Regions from separate parts of the Homo sapiens genome. Here regions 1 and 2 are each linked to region 3. The links are contacts of gene promoters, found by promoter capture Hi-C in human tissues and cell types (Jung and others, 2019). All regions are on one chromosome and are shown on one strand. The core of a region is centred on a gene start or on the middle of the fragment in contact, and the rest is flanking DNA. Distances in the headings are between cores, read along the strand shown.

Region 1 (3,924 bases), core at 1,010-3,509, 130 kb before region 3:
TTTTGGGAGCTGTGCCACTGCTAAGCCACACTCCCTCCAGCACAGGGGCACATCTCACTCCTTTCCTGACAGAAGCTGTTGCATAAGTCCGACAAGACTTAATCTAGGCATTTCCATAAATGAACTATGTCCTGGCTGAAGCAGGAGAGTCCAGTGTCCTCTGACTCCTATTTTAACCCTAACAACCAGGCTCACTACTGCTCTCGCTTTCCCTGTAGCACTGGCTAAGAACAGCTTGCTGTGGACAAAACCCCACAGTCTCACTGCACACATGCCTGCTAGAGCTTGCTAATAAGCCTGACCTGTGTTTGTATCACAAGCCCAAGGCAGCAACTTTTGAGTGAACCAGATCCTAATCAACTCCAGGCAGGAACACCCAGTTTAATCAACTTTCCTCAACAGCCACAATGAAACACATATGGTATAAGCCAGGTACCCAACTGAAATGACATCCTGAGGGGGAGAGAGAGAATCTTTGTAGCACAAAGTGGTGGGACTTTCTTAGATACCTGGGGCCAAGATGGAGAAAGCTAGCTCCAGGACTGTGAAGGTGTGTTGGGGTGTCTCAGGCCTGTCAATACACCAGAAATGCATTCTTTAGGACAATTTCACACATACACAAAGGCAGAGGTGCTTGGATGCCACTGCTATAATACGAATACCAACTAAGGCCATCTACCTATCTTTGTTCTTAGGAAATACAAAAGTATTATGGGGTAGAGGAGCATGATGAATGCAATCCACACACAAACAGTACAGGAAAAAAAAAGTATACGATAAGTTTAAAAAACTGGTTTTCCTTCAACCTAGAGGGCTAGGTGTCTAAAGAAATTCAATTACATTGAATTCAGAGATTTCAAAAACTTTCCTAGCAATAGTTATGGGCAATTTTCTGACCCAATCATGTGAGAGCTTCTTTTGGGTTCTCATTTTTATACAGTGACACAAGACCATATTCCATACAGAGACCAGTTTTCCAAAGATGGCTATTATATGCCAAAGCCAACAAAACAGATTTCAAACAGTCCCATCAGTGATTGGGTGGTCATGTTGAAGCCCCAAAAGCACAATGTCTGCTTGTGCAGAGCTCTACACCACATTCTCCCACCAAAACTTCTAAGAATTAAGTCATTTTGAATGTAGTGAAATGGGTTTGACCATTACTCTCTGTATTTGCTTGTATCATTTATAATTTGGGTCCATTTTTATAAAACTGGGGACATATTTTGGAGTATTGTTATTTTTCTCACTTATGCCAACAGCATTTTGACCAACATGCCATATCCTGCAGCTGATGCCCTATCCTGCAGCACTGGCCACCAGTGCTTGGCTTGCAGCTGTCGGAATGAGAAGGAGAACAAAAGCTCCCTGCCTTCCCAGCTTAACCTCAGATGCACACCCTCTGACCCGATAAGCACCATTTCAGGGACCTCATCCTGAGTTTCACATACACATATTTCCTCTTCTTCCTTTAAAAAAAAAAATATATATATATATACACACACACACACATATATATACATACATATATACATACATACACACATACACACACACACACACACACACACACACACACACACATATATGAGACAGGGTCTCACTGTGTTGCCCAGGGTGGTCCCAAACTCTTGGGATCAAGTGATCCCCCTGGCCCAGCCTCCCAAAGTGCTGGGATTACAGGCATGAGCCAATGTGCCTGGCCATATTTTGCATTTTCAAATGTCAAAAACAGTGCTAAGATAACAGGATACTTTAAAACTACTTGAGGGACCATAAAAGGGTATTTTGTATGGGGATGTTGTCGAGGATATCATCTAATAGTGTCTCCTGTATCTGAGTGCCAGGGAAATCCACACAATTGCTATTTTAACTTAAGAACACTATGCATTTTGGAACTGATGATCTTCCCTGCTTAATCTTACACTGGAATATACCTTTATTCAATGTACAGAGAGATTCAGGTTTACATTTCTGGATACTGACTGCTTGGCTTCATTTTACATTCTACCCCAGCTTACCTGCACCATGATCTATGCATCTACTTTTATCCTGCCATAGAATTTTTTTAATTTTAGAGATAGGGTCTTGCTCTGTCACCCAGGCTGGAGTGCAGTGGTGCGACCAGAGCTTAATGCAGCCTGAACTGCTGGGTGGGCTCAAGTGATCCTTTTTGCCTCAGCCTATGGAGTAGCTGGGACTACAGGCATAAGCCATCACATCCAGATAATATATTTTTTATTTTTGGAGATGGAGTCTTGCTCTGTCGCCCAGGCTGGAGTGCAGTGGCGCGATCTTGGCTCATTGCAAGCTCTGCCTCCTGGGTTCACGCCATTCTCCTGCCTCAGCCTCCCGAGTAGCTGGGACTACAGGCGCCCGCCACCACACCTGGCTAATTTTTTGTATTTTTTTTAGTAGAGACAGGGTTTCACCGTGTTAGCCAGGCTGGTCTCAATCTCCTGACCTCGTGATCTGCCCGCCTCAGCCTCCCAAAGTGCTGGGATTACAGGCGTGAGCCACAGTGCCCAGCCCCACATCCAGATAATTTTTAAACTTTTTTGCTTTTCAGAAGAGACAGGGTCTAACTATTTCTGAAAGAGGATAGAATAAAAAGTAAATACTAAAACCCCAAAACAGGGCAGGTGTGGCTTAGGCCTGTAATTCCAATACTTTGGGAGGCCAAGGTGGGAGGATCGCTTAAGTCCAGGAGTGCAAGACTAGCCTGGGCAACAGAGTGAGATCCTCTATTTATCTTTTCCGAATCGTTGTGGTGTGCTTTTGTGTGTGTGTGAGACTAGGTCTCACTCCGTCGCCCAGGCTGGAGTGCAGTGGCACTCCATAGCTCACTGCAGCCTTGACTTCCTGGGCTCAAGTAATCGTCCCAACTCAGCCTCCACCTGAATGGCTGGGACTACAGGCATGTGCCACCACATCCGTCTATTTTATTTTTTTTACAGACAAAGTCTTGTCATGTTGCCCAGGTTGGTCTTGAACCCCTGGGCTCAAGTGATCCTCCTGCCTCAGCCTCTCAAAGTGTTGGGATTATAGGAGTAGCCACCACATTTTGTCCCACCCCACTTTTATAACAGAAAATGTTATTGAACAAGCAAGGAAAAGTGCTAAGAGGATGTTCTCATTCCCAAAAGGCAGAATGACTGGATCTGGGAAGGACAGGCAAGCCTCACAGCCTGAGATGTGCTGAACAAACTAAACTGTGCTCAGAGTTCACCCACCACCAGCTTTAGCTACGCCACAGTCTGCTGGCTCTTATTCAATGTGCCTAGGTTTTGATAGACCCAGTGAGGCCTCTACATCCTGTTACAGGCTAAATTGTATCCCTCAAAAAAATTCATTGTTGAAGTCCTAATACCCAGCACCTCAGAATGTGATCATATTTAGAGACAAAAAATCTTTACAGGCCAGATGTGGTGGCTCATGCCTGTAATTCCAGGAGTTTGAGAGACTGAGGCAGCAGGATCACTTGTGGCCAGGAGTTTGAAACTGGCCTGAAAAACATATCAAGACTCCGTCTCTACAAAAAAATTTAAAAATTAGCCAGGTATGGTGGGGCACACTGGTAGTCCTGGATACTTAGAAGACTGAGGTGAAAAGATCTCTTGAGCCCAGAAGTCCAAGGCTGCCCATGAGCTATGATCAAACCACTGCACCCCAGCCTGGTCAACAGACCAAAGCTTAATCTCAAAAAAAAAAAAAAAAAAAAAAAAAGAAAAGAAAAAGGAAAAGAAAAAAAAGGCTGGGTGCAGTGGCTCATGCCTGTAATCCTAGCACTTTGGGAGGCCAAGGTGGGCAGATTGCCTCAGCTCAGGAGTTAGAGACCAGCCTGGGCAACATGATGAGCCTCCATCTCTATTAAAAATACAAAAAATATTAACATTAGTGGGGTACGGTGGCCCATGCCTATAA
Region 2 (3,774 bases), core at 34-2,533, 220 kb after region 3:
AAAACCCTGGTGTTCCTCCAGTCATCAAAGCCGCATCAATTGGAATCAAGGAATATATGCAAAAATCAATGTTATTTCTACGTACCAGCCATAAACAAAAAAACCTTTTTTGAAGTAAAATCGCTTGTAGTAGTGTGAATCAAAAAGCATCTGAAACAGGTCTCAATCAACTTAAGAGTTTATTTTGCCAAGGTTAAGGACAATGCCCAGGAGGGGAAAAAAAATGGAATCACAGAAGCAGCCTATGGTCTGTGCCTTTCCCCAAAGGTGACTTTGAGGGCTTCAAAATTTAAAAAAGAAGAGTGAGGTGAGAAGATTGCTTGAGCCCAGGAGTTCAAGACCAGCCTGAGGAACATCGTGAAACCCCATCTCTACAAAAAAATACAAAAATTGGCCAGATATGGTGGTGCATGCCTGCAGTCCCTGCTACTCAGCAGGCTGAAGCACAAGGATCGATTGAGCCCAGGAGGTCCAGGCTACTGTGAGCCATGATTGCCCCACTGTACTCCACCCTGGGTGACAGAGCAAGACCCAGTGTCTCTCTCTCTCTCTCCCTCTCTCTCTCTCCTTCTTTCTCTCTCTCTCTCTATATATATAGCTCAATTCACCTATTTCTAACAGTTTCTCGAGTATCTACAGATAATGACTATAACAGTTAAAGAAAGAGGAAGGAAACATGAAAAGTGGCTCAACAGTTAAAGACAGGTTTATTCTAGAGAATAAACCTGAGAGGGGCTTCTGGCTGATTTCAGTTGGGCGCTCTTTCTTACAAACAGCCATATATATATATATATATATATAGAGAGAGAGAGAGAGAGAGAGAGAGAGAGAGAAAGAAAGCACAAAGGAGCAGGTAGGGGAAGAGTAAATTACGTATTCCTCTTGCATTACCAGAAAGAGGTCCCAATCCAGACCCCAAAGAAGGTTCTTGGATCTCCAGCAAGAAAGAATTCAGGGCAAGTCCATAGTAAGTTGATTAAGACAGTAAAGGAATAAAAGAATGGCTACTCCATAGACAGAGCAGTGTGGAGGGCAGCTGGTTGCCCATTTTTATGGTTATTTTTTATTATATGTGAAACAAGGGATAGATTATTTATGCCTCCCCTTTTTAGACCACATAGGTTAACTTCCTGACATTGCCACAGCATTTGTAAACTGTCATGGCGCCAGTGAGAGTGTAGTACTGAGGAAGACCTGAGGTCACTCTCGTTGCCATCTTGGTTTTGGTGGGTTTTAGCTGGCTTCTTTACTGCAACCTGTTTTATCAGCAAGGTCTTTATGACGTGTATCTTGTGCCGACCTCCTATCTCATCCTGTGACTAAGAATGACTTGACCTCTTGGGAATGCAGCCCAGTAGGTCTCATCCTCATTTTACCCAGCCCCTATTCAAGATGGAGTTGCTCTGGTTCACACGCCTCTGATACTTGTGCTCAGTAAATCAGTAAATCAGCACTTTACACAAGATTAGGTGAACATCGAGTGGAGATATTGAACTCAAGATAAGGTGAACATAGACTGGAGGTATTGAACCTTTTTTTTTTTTTTTTTTTTGAGACAGTCTCACTCCTTCACCCAGGCTGGAGAGCAGTGGTGCTATCTTGGCTCACTGCATCCTCTGCCTCCTGGGTTCAAGCGATTCTCCTACCTTAGCCTCCCGAGTAGCTGGGATTACAGGAACATGCCACCACTCCTGGCTAATTTTTGTATTTTCAGTAGAGATGGGGTTTCACCATATTGGCCAGGCTGGTCTCGAACCCCTGAACTCAGATATGCCCACCTCTGCCTCCCAAAGTGCCGGGATCACAGCCGTGTGCCATGCACCCAGTCAGATTTGGGCATTGTTGTTGTTGGTGGTGGTGGTGTTTTGAGACACTCTGTCACCCAGGCTGGAGTGCAGTGGCACAATTTTGGCTCACAGCAACCTCCACCTCCTGGGTTCAAGTGATTCTCCTGCCTCAGCCTCCCAAGTAGCTGGGATTACAGGCGCCTACCACCACGCCTGGCTACTTTTTTTTGTATTTTTAGTCGAGATGGGATTTCACCATGTTCGCCAGGCTGGTCTCGAACCCCTGACCTCAGGTAATCAACCCACCTTGGCCTCTCAAAGTGCTGGGATTACAGGCGTGAGCCAGCGCGCCCAGCTGAGCCTGGAACCTTTTATCTGTAGCTATCTGCTTAGGAACAAAGGGAAAGGTAGCTGCTTGCATGGCTCAGCATTCAACTTAATTTTTTTTTGGTATAGTGAACTGGGGTCCTGAGTTTTTATTTTCCTTTCACAATAGCATAAAAAAGTTAAAAACCTAGATGTAAAACTAACAAAGATATGCAAGACTTCTGCACTGACCACTGCAAAGCATAATTGAGAGAAATTAAGGAAAACCTAAATAAACAGAGGGTATACTCCATTTCTCGCCACATTCATACCCTGATTTGCAACCGGCAAAAGGGTCCGCTGCTTACTTGTAAAAAGAAGCCCATGTAACAAGAGTGAGGTGTGATAAGAAGAGAGAGTGAGATGTGATTATCCATGCTAGCAAGGGAGGAGTGAGTGTAATTCTTTCCAAAAATTTACACTCTTCAGTTTGTGGAGAGAATGCAGGTGTTTCTGTTTGTTTTTTGAGAGGGAGTCTCGCTCTGTCACCCAGGCCGGAGTGCAGTAGCACGATTTCTGCTCATTGCAAGCTCTGCCTCCTGGGTTCATGCCATTCCACTGCCTCAGCCTCCTGAGTAGCTGGGACTACAGGTGCCCGCCACCAAGCCTGGCTAATTTTTTTTTTTTTTTTTTCTGTATTTTCAGTAGAGACGGGGTTTCACCGTGTTAGCCAGGATGGTCTCGATCTCCTGGCCTCGTGATCCACCTCGGCCTCCCAAAATGCTAGGATTACAGGCGTGAGCCACCGCGCCTGGCCCCGAATGCGGGGGTATTTTAAGAGAGGATTTGGAATGCAGAAAAGGCAGAGGGGCTGGGAGGTATCAGGTGGCGTGACTCACTCCAATGGCTTGTCTTGAATTATTGTTTCATCTGGTGAAAGGGCCGGTGCCGTCATGGCTAGAGGTGTCTGGTCCGTATCAGGATCTGGCCTCTGAAGCTTCTAAGGAAATATATGACCAGATAAGTGAGTGTGGTGTGTTCTTAGCAAGCGGCTAGGTAAGTAAATAGTGCATAAGGCATGGGGGCATAGAATGGGAAAAGAGGCCAGGTGCGGTGGATCATGCCTGTAATCCCAGCACTTTGGAAGGCCAAGGTGTTGCAGGCTGCACATCTGAAGCCTGTTAACAATACTGTGATCAATCAAGGAGCTGACCAATCATTACCTCCTCCTCCCAGCTCTTTCTACCCAATAAAAGTGAAGGACTCTAGAAGCTCAGGGCTGCCTTTGCCTACTAGAAGCAAGGAGCCCCCGACTCCCTCTTTAAAAAATCCTTTTGTATTTGTTTTCATTTCTATGTTCATCCCCCTTCGTTCATTCCCGTAGTAACCATCACACCAAGGCGGCTAGAACAGTTAAGAACAGGAGTTTGAGACCAGCCTGGCCAACATGGCGAAACCCCGCCTCTACAAAAAATTAGTTGGGCGTGGTGACGTGAGCCTGTAATCCCAGCTACTCAAGAGGCTGAGGCAGGAGGATCGCTTGAGCCCGGGAGGTGGAGGTTGCAGTGAACAGAGATCATGCCACCGCACTCCAGACTAGGTGACAAAGTGAGACTCTCTATCCAAAAAAAAAAAAAACCGGGAAAAGAAAGGGAGAGGAGGTTCACATTCTGAACATTCC
Region 3 (3,496 bases), core at 676-3,175:
ATCTGGCAATTTCCTATCCCTCTCTGTTGGCTCTGTGCATCTAATTACTCCTTGAGTCATCTGTTGCTAACCAGGAGGGGAAATTAAATATTAATAATGTAATACTTCTCTGTGATTACCCCTTGTTGGGGACAGATCAGAGGGCAGATGCTGCCCCATACAGACAGGGGACACATGCTGCGGAATGTGCATAATGCCTCTTGAAAGAACCACCTTATAGGATTCCACGCGGTCAGACTCAAAACTGCTGCTGCTTCCTGCCTTCCTCCTCACCTCCCCCAACCTGGCCACTTTAATTAAAACTCCATTTAATCAAAACCCACACATCTTCTGGTTCCTCATATGTCGCACTAGCAAGGCCCTCTGTACACATGCCCAGATGGTGGCTATACCCCCCAGAGCCTGCTGCACGGAGGTGCCCACCAGCTTCTAGGCAGTGACCTGCACATCTGCTCCTGAGTGCGGCTAAGAGCAACATACAGGACACAGTGCACGGACTCGGACCCGCTCCAGCCATGCCTGGCCTGTTCCTGGGCTCCAGAATCCCAGCCTTAGAACCCTCCTGCTGCTTTTCCATAACAAATGTTTACCAAGTACCTCCACCAGGCCTGGCAGCACCCCAACTGCTGGGCCAAAGGGAGGTGTGCCCCCGTTGCTGTGCCTGGCCCCATCTGAGCATATGGCAGGGGACCTCAAAGGAGGAAAGGACCCAGGACATTCCTGGGAGGCGGCTGCTGCCCTGCAGTTTCAGGCACTGCAGGCCACTCCCTGTCTCCACAACATTGGCTCAGCTAAGAGGAGTCGCAAATCAATTTCAAAGCGCAAGAGGTATATGAAGGCTAAGAAAGGTAAGCAACAGAATAAAAAACATGGAGGTGAATTCATTCCAGTAGGAAGGAAGGTAATACAGTAATCTAATAATGATTTCAGAGACCTTTAGAATCTCCAAAGAGGCAAAGAAAGGAATGGCATCCGTAGACAAGAATGAGAACTTCTGAACCGACTGGCGGAAATGAAACAAGGACAGGTGGATATGAACAAGAAATAATACAAAATCCAGGGACTGAAAAATAGAAGGACTGAAGTAAGGGATGTGGTGAGCTTCAGGCACACGTACAGTGGAAGAGACGACTGGGGATCTGAAGCTAGTACTGAGGAATTCTCCCAGAAACGCCATGAAGAGACCTAGTCTAGGAGGAAACGGTTGAGAGGCATGGGGTGGACTGAGAAGCATCAACAAGTGGCTTGCGGGAGCTCGGCAGGGCACGGCAGGTTGTGGGCCCCACTATGACTGGCTTTTGGGATGGCCCAGGGGGGCCTGGGCATGAACCTCCCAGAACCCAGGGCCCCAGGATCCCCATACCCCTTCCAAACTCATCAGCGCAGGTGCCTTCCTCACTGCCCAGTGGTAAGCAGCCACCCAGCACGGGCTCCACTTCCCTCCTGACCTCCGGGGCTGCCCGGTGGCCCTTACTTCAGGCGCTGGGTGCAGGCTGGGCCCGGGACCCAGAGATACACCTGGCATCCCTCCCCCACAGCCCGGGTGCAGCTGCAGCTCTCTGCTCCTGGTGGCAGGATGTGGGCAAGATGGGGCCAAGACCCAGCTCCCTGCAGCTGGAGGCTAAGGCTCTGAGCCTGCCTCACAGAGCAGCCCCCACATCGCAGCCCCGGGGCCAGTGCTGGGGGCCCCAGCTCCTGCTCCCCACACCCCCATGTGTCCAGGCTAGGGGCCAGGAAGGCCACAGCACCCCCTCCTCCCCGCCTGGGGGCCACTCACCCCCTCACACGAGGCTTCACCTGACAGCCCTCCTCCGAGGGGCCGCACCCCGCACCAAGGTGCTGGGGGCCCACGCTGTGCTGAAAGCAGCTTGGCTGGGGGCGGCTCCTGCTCCATGTCACAGTCCCTGAGGCCCAGGCAGAGCTTCCCCTCTGCACGCGGCTGCTCACATGTACACAGGCTGTGGTGAGCCACGTCACGTCACGTGAAGGATTGGCACCTGCACCTCCCTCAGATGGCGGGCAACAGGTACTATGCCGCTGAAGGGGGGACAAGGGAGTGTTTCTAGATGGCCCCGCGGACACAGAGCCCAGGAGTCCTGGGCGGGACCCTGTGGGAGGCTTGAAGGGGCAGTGCTGGGTGCAGGGCCTCACAATGCCCCAGGGTGGCTGCAATGAGGATGGGAGGGGTGAGGACCGGCTGTTGGGTCCCTGGGCAGGTGCGACGAGGCAGCCCCGGAGGCTGACAGGAGGGCAGGGTGACCAAGCAGAGCCTGGCCACTGCTTCTTCCCCACTGAGCAGCCTCCCCCAGGCTGGCTCAGGGTTTGCAGAGGCCACTGAGGGACCAGAGGCGAGTCCTCCTGTGACACGGGCAGACCAGCCCGGGGCCTCTGGGGAGAAGTCTCCTGCCCAGATGCCAGAGGAGACACCAAGTGGCACCATCGGCCTCCCTCTGCTTGGCCAGCTCCGGCAGCCTCTCCACCAGGTGACGGCCGATGCCAGAGACCAGGGCTGCAGCGGCACATCCGAGGAGTGGGCACAGAAGAGCAGCAGCAGCCCCTGCCCAGTGACTCCTGGAACAAGCTTCCCCTGCGGGGTGTTGGCGGGGGGTGGTGAGAGAATCCCCATGGCAACTCACAGAAACATCATCTGGGTGAGACTTGGAGGAGAAGGTGAAGGGAGAGAGGTATCGAGAGATTCTAGCAGAGAAAATGCCCGAAGCCAGGGTCCTGCCTTCCCTGGGCTCCCATCATCCCCTGTGCTGGGACGAGGGGCAGCTGCTCTGCTGCTCCTCTCTCCACCTGATCCTCCCCAGTCCCTGGCCAGATCCATGGAGTCCAGGCTGCAGGGGCCCAGGCCTCCTCCGCCATGAAACTGCCTCTTCCCACCACCCAGAGCCCCAGGTTCTGCACAGGATGTGGGCAGTTGTGTGGGGGCTCCTCTCTGCACCCCAGCTCCATTCCCTTCCCCATCTGGGCTCCTCTGCTCCTTGCAACCTCTGGACCACCCACCTCCTAGGACCAAGCCCCTCCTGTCAATGGCCCAGACCCTTCTGGGAGCTAGAACCCTCCCATTCACCAGCTCAGCTCCTGCCTGTGCAGTCTCCTCTCCACAGCACCCCCACCACACATGCCCTAAATCCCCTCAGCCTGTGCTTCCCGCCTTCATCCATCCATCCATCTTCTGTCTGTCCTTCCTCTGCTCTCCTGCGTGCTCAGGGCTCTGTTTGCGCTGCAATAGACAAGACAGACCCCGCAAACACGGTTGGGAAGGCAGTTCTAGCTCATTTGGGGTTAGGTGGCTCGGGTATTAGGTCTGTGAGAGGGTACTAAGACCTTCTTTGGAGTGTCAGGACACAGCTGAGAGCCACCAGGGGCTGTGGTCCCACACAGCAGGCACTGCCCAGGCCTCACCTGGACTTTGCAGGACGTGATGCTCTCAAGTCACATGCTGGCTCCCAGGCCAACTACCATTCATATGTCCCTCTGCCAACAGCAA

What was found. The method cuts DNA at HindIII sites, captures the fragments that hold promoters and counts their contacts. A contact is called where the count stands out against the background at its distance.
Region 1: a fragment that was not itself captured here is called in contact with the fragment with the promoter of ADORA2A in region 3 in 3 of the 25 tissues and cell types used here (bladder, lymphoblastoid cells and stomach).
Region 2: a contact is called between a fragment that was not itself captured here and the fragment with the promoter of ADORA2A in region 3, in 2 of the 25 tissues and cell types used here (dorsolateral prefrontal cortex and lymphoblastoid cells).

The regions. Positions count from the first base shown.
Region 1 is chr22:24,560,867-24,564,790 of GRCh38, reverse strand. The region is part of intron 2 of SNRPD3 (small nuclear ribonucleoprotein D3 polypeptide); the gene reads right to left. Among named protein-coding and RNA genes, the nearest start is that of SNRPD3, 6.8 kb to the right of the region's middle. RefSeq lists an enhancer at 2,377-2,878. The HindIII fragment of the contact is 9,525 bases long and covers 1-3,924 here.
Region 2 is chr22:24,201,665-24,205,438 of GRCh38, reverse strand. No RefSeq gene overlaps it. Among named protein-coding and RNA genes, the nearest start is that of SUSD2, 22 kb to the right of the region's middle. RefSeq lists an enhancer at 1-149. The HindIII fragment of the contact is 4,705 bases long and covers 1-3,635 here.
Region 3 is chr22:24,426,028-24,429,523 of GRCh38, reverse strand. It overlaps ADORA2A (adenosine A2a receptor), which reads right to left and starts at 1,925. Exons shown (of 3, transcript NM_000675.6): 1 at 1,778-1,925. The region is part of intron 18 of SPECC1L-ADORA2A (SPECC1L-ADORA2A readthrough (NMD candidate)); the gene reads right to left. It overlaps ADORA2A-AS1 (ADORA2A antisense RNA 1), which reads left to right. Exons shown (of 7, transcript NR_028484.3): 7 at 1-318. RefSeq lists enhancers at 1-64, 139-298 and a silencer at 1,735-1,844. The HindIII fragment of the contact is 18,723 bases long and covers 1-3,496 here.